2 separate regions of the Homo sapiens genome follow, and region 1 is linked to region 2. Evidence: promoter capture Hi-C in human tissues and cell types (Jung and others, 2019). All regions are on one chromosome and are shown on one strand. Each heading gives the region's core, a stretch centred on a gene start or on the middle of the fragment in contact. The rest is flanking DNA. Distances are from core to core; before and after follow the strand shown.

Region 1 (2,893 bases), core at 372-2,871, 1.2 Mb before region 2:
GGCCACTAGACCACCCCACAGGGCATAGCCAGGGGGACCAGCACAGGAGGGGACGGAGAGGAGCTGCAGGAGGGCTGGGGGGAGGCTGCAGTCTCGGAGGGGGGCCTCGCCGGGTCTGGAGGGGACAGCAGAGACAGCCCGTTCCCCCTGCCGCCTGAGGGCACCAGGGAGAGGGCTGTATGTCCCTCACGCCACACTGTGTGTGCAGTCAGCAGTGTGGCCACAGATGGGGGCCACTCTCTCAACCTCAGGTGTCCTCAGGGCCCAGACCGCTGCTGGGCACAGCCAGGCTGGCTGCCAGCTGGTTCCCTGCCCCGTGGCTGGGGGACAGAGCAGCACGTATCAGCTGGGCTAGGGTCAGGGGGCCACTGGTGCGCAGCCTGGCACAGCCTGGCAGGCTTGAGGCCCAGTGTGCTGGGGGTGGTCACACAGCCGTCAGCCACCTCCAGCTCTTCCAGGGCATTCTAGATGGGGTCCCGGGAGGGGGCAGGTTTTGGTGCCAATTTGAGTGTATAAAGTTTTAGGTAAATACCAAATGCCTGTAGACTCTGTGTTATTCAGTTACTATTTGAAAGTGACATATCGTGAAATCATGGGGGATCCGAGTCTCCTTTCTGCAAAGTTGATGAGACAAGTCGCCACCGCCTGGAATCTGCTGACGCTGCCGTGCAGGCCTCAAGGGTGGCACTCTTCAAAGTAGGACAGCATGCGAGGTCGCCACGTGCCCACACACTGCACTGCTCCAAAGGCACATCTGTCCGTCACCTGAGCTCTGAGACCCAGAACAGCCACAGGGACCCTGCAGTCCTAACCCGTCAGGTGGCTCCTGGGGCTGCTGCCAGCCGCATGCCTGTCCCACACAGTCCGGTCCGTAGGGTCTGCTGGAGTGAGTAAGGCCTGGGGGGCCTTATGTATGGTCCATGAGGTTCCATTCCTCATGCCATGACCACCGGGGGAAGTGAAAGGAGGAAGACACGTCAAAGCCAGCAGGCCCAGGAGCAGACATAGAAGGAGGTGGCCCCACAGGAGCAGACGCAGAAGTGCCAACGGGGAAGGAGGTGGCCCCAAGTGGAGGCAGGCTGGGCCAGGGCGGGGGGCCGGTGACCAGGGCAACCTCGGCTACTTTGCTGCACCCGCCCTCGCCTCCCTTGAAATACAAAAACAGCAGCAGCCAGAAATAGTTGGGGAAGAAATAAGAAATATTTGCCACACATGGGAGTGATTAAGGTCCTTAATATTTAAAGAGTTTTTATATGTTGCTAAAGAAAATGACAAAAACCGATATGGAAAAGTGAGCAGAGATGTGGAGAAATCATTCGCAGAGCAGGAAACTGGCTGGTAATTCCATGAAGAAAGTCCTCATCCCATCAGGAATCATGGAAAGGCCAATGAAAGCGACGAGGTAACCCCCTTTTCAATTTGAGAGGGTTTTGATCTGTCGCGCAGGCTGGGGCTCACCGCTGTCTTGACCTCCTGGGCTCAAGCGATTCTCCCACCCGCTCAGCCTCCGGAGTAGCTGGGACTACAGGCATCACCACGCCTGGCTAATTCTTTTATGTTTTGTAGAGACAGGGTCTCACTCTGTTGCCCAGGCTAGTCTCAAACTCCTGGCCTCGAGCAATCCTCCTGCCTCCTCAGCCTGTTACAGCTTTTTTTTTTAAGGTAATCTGGTAACAGCTCTTAAAAGTAGTGTGACTGATGAGTGCACAAGCCCGTCCAGCCCCAGCCGCCCCCTGGCACCTTTTCTGAGGGTGTCTACTGCCCCGCTGTGCTGTGCCCGCTAATCTGGGTGTGGCCCGATCGCACAATGGCTTTTCTGGAAGGATCCGATGCTCACGAGGCTTATTGCTAAGGAGGAAGATGCAACAGGTCCAGCTGTTCCAAGTGACTGGGTCACGCTTCACATCGATGTGCAATGTCTCCTGCCACCTGCCTGGATGCACTCTCGTGACTACCTGGCAGGCTGGGAACAGCACGGGGGAGGCCCCCGCCTGCCCCAGCGACCTGCCTGCCCTGCTCTCAAGTGCAGACCCCCAGGTCTGCACTTCCACGCTCACTACACAACCCCAAGTGGCCCCCCGGGTGGCCCCGTGGCCGGATGTGCACCCAGCAGAGCAGCCACCCTTGAGACCTGGGGTGTGGTCTGGGGGCTGTGTGGAGACCTCCCGCCAGGGTGCAGGAGTGTCTAAGGGCAAGCAGAGGTGTGATTCCTGTCTGTAAGGTAAAACCCCCGTGAGCAGGAATCAATAATGTAGACATGATCGGAATGGTGGAGGGAGCTGTGGCGGTCACACCCTTGCTGTTAGCATTGCCTCTGTGGGGGCAGGAGACAGCAAACATAAAACCTGTCCCTGAAAGGGGCAAGATGGCCCCGATGGCTCCCTGCACCTGTCCTGGTGCCTGCAGGCAGGCGGGTCAGCTCCCCTCCCGCTGCCAAATCTCCCACGTCTCTGTGCGCTCTGTCACCCCTGCTTTCTGGCCTGAGGGCTGGGAAGGGAGGTCTGGGGAGCCCAGGAGCTGAGAAGTACCCAAAAACCACCCCCAACGCCCCCCAACCCTCAGGCGTGCCTGTGAGTGTGTCTGTGTGTCTCACTCTGACTCACCCAGACAACTGACTTCAGCAGCCAACCTTGGTCATTCCCAGAACCACCACTGGGGGGCATACGTGTGGCTAGACTGGGGGCGCCCGAATATCTGTCTCTACAAAAAGTAAAAAAAAAATTAATGGGGTGTGGTGGTGGTGCGTGCCTGTGGTGTCAGCTGCTTGGGACGCTGGGGCAGGAGGATCACTTGAGCCCGAGAATTCAAGGCTACAGTGAGTTAAGATTACGCCACTGCACTCCATCCTGGGTGACAGAGCAAGACCTTGTCTCAAGAAAAAATTTTTAAATGA
Region 2 (2,700 bases), core at 81-2,580:
CCTCACCTCCTTCTCCATTCGGGTCACCTTCTCAAAGACCTCCCCACCCTCCTCTGTACGGCAGCCCTGCTGGCACCTGCTTCCGTGTCCGGCTTCATTGCTTTTCATAGCACGCGGTGGCTGCTTTACGCGTTGGTTTGTTTGGGGTCTGCCCAAATGCAGGCCAGGGACACTGGGGGCTCGGTTTTGTTCTTGATTTGTCTCCAGGGCTTGGCACAGAGCAGAAGCCAGGAAACGTGGGTGATGGAAGGAAACATGAACAGGGAGACGCAGGACGTGAGGAAAAGGGAGCAGACGCCTTGGCCAGGGGCCCTCTGGGGAGAATCCTCTCATCTGGGGTTAACCATTGTTAGCAGCAAAACCTTTTAAACAAAATCTTACACAGAACCCCACAATACAGTTATCTATTTATTTTGAGACAAGGTCTCGCTCTGTCATCCAGGCTGGAGTGCAGTGGCAGAGTCACGGCTCACTGCAGCCTCAAGCTCCCAGGCTCAAGCCATCCTCCACCTTAGCCCCTCAAGTAGCTGGGACTACAGGTGTGCACCACCATGCCCGGCTTTTTTCTTTTTTTTAAGAGATGGGCTCTCGCTATGTTGCCCAGGCTCGCCCACTCCCTTGTTTTGTTTTGGTCACACAGTTCAGAGAAAATCTTGACATGTGTAAAAATTAGGAATAGGAACAAAAAAAAAAATCAGGTATCCTGTTCAATGAAGCAAAAAAGTCATATGATTTCATTTCCAAACCGTGAAGCTGCATTCGACTGGAACATCCTAAAAGGTAGCACACAACACATCTGACTTTGAGTGGATGTTTTGCTGCATTTTCTAAGCGTTCCAATATCATATTAAAAAGTCGAGGCTGGCTTGCAGACCCTCTGAAGCCCCAGGTGGGGTTGCCAAGTAAAAGAACCCCGGAATAGTTTTTTACGTCTAAGAATGTCTTGTTAAATTTGTATTTCAGGCATGGCACAGACCTAGGCTGAAAAACCGACTCACTGTTTGTCTGAAATTCACGTTGAACCTGGCGTCGTGCACTTCCATTTGCTAAATGTGGCCACCTGGCCCTGTTCAGGGAAGGGGTTTGGGGAACGCGCGGCGGGGTGGGGCGGGGCCTGGGCGGAGCCTGCCGCGCCTGGGCGGGGAGATGGCGTCATCAGACTCTTGGGGGCGGGGCTGCCACGCATGGGCGGGGGCGGGGGCGGGGAGAGAGGGCGGGGTCAGACGTGAGGGGGCGGGGCGGAACAGAACTGGGCGCGCGGGGGCGGGGCCGGGCGCGCCGGCGCACGTGACGGTGGTTGCCAGGGTGAAAGTTCAGCGCGCCGGCGGCACTTCCAACATGGCGGCGGCCGGGGCGGCGGTGGCGCGCAGCCCGGGAATCGGAGCGGGACCTGCGCTGAGAGCCCGGCGCTCGCCCCCGCCGCGGGCCGCACGGCTGCCGCGGCTGCTAGTGCTGCTAGCGGCGGCGGCGGTGGGGCCGGGCGCGGGCGGTGCGGCGCGGCTGTACCGCGCGGGCGAGGACGCCGTGTGGGTGCTGGACAGCGGCAGCGTGCGCGGGGCCACCGCCAACAGCTCGGCCGCGTGGCTCGTGCAGTTCTACTCGTCGTGGTGTGGCCACTGCATCGGCTACGCGCCCACTTGGCGGGCCCTGGCTGGGGATGTGCGAGGTGAGGCGCGCCCCCGCGCGGGGACCCCCCGACCCCCGGGACCGCGGCCTTCCGGGACCCCTTGCGACCGCCCCAGAAGGCGGGTCCCGGGGCCCCTCCCCCGTATTTCTTTCCTTACCGCAGAGCCAGTCCCTGCCCCACAGAGGCACCCGACTCGGACCAACCCTGGCCTTTCCAGGGGCGGGAGACTAAGCCAGCTGCTCCCCATGTCTCTCCCAGTTAATCCCCGTTAGATCCTGACGAGTTGGGCTGTCTGAAGTCAAAATGAAACCATTCTCCCGCAGCCCTCACCGCACGCTTGGGGATAGGGAAGCCCTCCCGTATCCCAGCTCTCAAAATACCTATGTTTTGAGCCCCAAGAACTTCATTGACCTTCCAGGCCTCCTACCCTACCTGTTTCCTAGCGTCCACACACCCCATCCCCAGTGCCCAGAATTCCTGTTCTCTGAGGATCCCTCATTCCTATTCCACACTCGTAGCCACCCCATTCCCTTTGAACCTTCATCATTAACTTTCTGGTTCGGATCGCTGGCCATATAGTGGGTGCTCAAAGTGAACCCACAACTTAGAAGTCCAAATACTCTGGAGACTTCTCTATAATACCCCAAAACAACCTATAAAGCAATTTTTTTAACTCTACAAAGAATTTCATTGGTGGGCTCCTTGATCACAGATGCACAGCCTTTGAGAAATCTTTCACCAAACTGCTGGTAGTGTTCCGCACTTTATTGTTTAGTGCTTTCATCTGGTCGCACGTTGTTAACCAGTCACGAAGTTACTCGCCTGCTCTACAGGTTAGAGTTGGCGTGGGAGGGGGCATTCACAACACCCTTCCCTTAAAATGGTATTTAAATCACTGAAGTAGGAGGTCCTCCCGACCCAGTGAGGTTTGGCAGGACTTCCTGTGTTGTGCTAACCTCAAATTACATGTTTCAGTGGGCAAGATCTGTAACAAATTGCTACTCTTTCTTCCTGCACCTTTGTTTTTATGCCTTACACCCAATCCTGCTGTATTTTTCTCATCGCAAACAGAT

The links. The method cuts DNA at HindIII sites, captures the fragments that hold promoters and counts their contacts. A contact is called where the count stands out against the background at its distance.
Region 1: a contact is called between a fragment that was not itself captured here and the fragment with the promoter of QSOX2 in region 2, in 1 of the 25 tissues and cell types used here (spleen).

What each region holds. Positions count from the first base shown.
Region 1 is chr9:137,445,213-137,448,105 of GRCh38, reverse strand. NSMF (NMDA receptor synaptonuclear signaling and neuronal migration factor) reads left to right here. Exons shown (of 16, transcript NM_001130969.3): 16 at 1-536. Among named protein-coding and RNA genes, the nearest start is that of MIR7114, 3.4 kb to the left of the region's middle. The HindIII fragment of the contact is 6,315 bases long and covers 1-2,893 here.
Region 2 is chr9:136,244,442-136,247,141 of GRCh38, reverse strand. It overlaps QSOX2 (quiescin sulfhydryl oxidase 2), which reads left to right and starts at 1,330. Exons shown (of 12, transcript NM_181701.4): 1 at 1,330-1,666. The coding sequence starts at 1,339. RefSeq lists silencers at 1,093-1,362, 1,393-1,802. The HindIII fragment of the contact is 9,280 bases long and covers 1-2,700 here.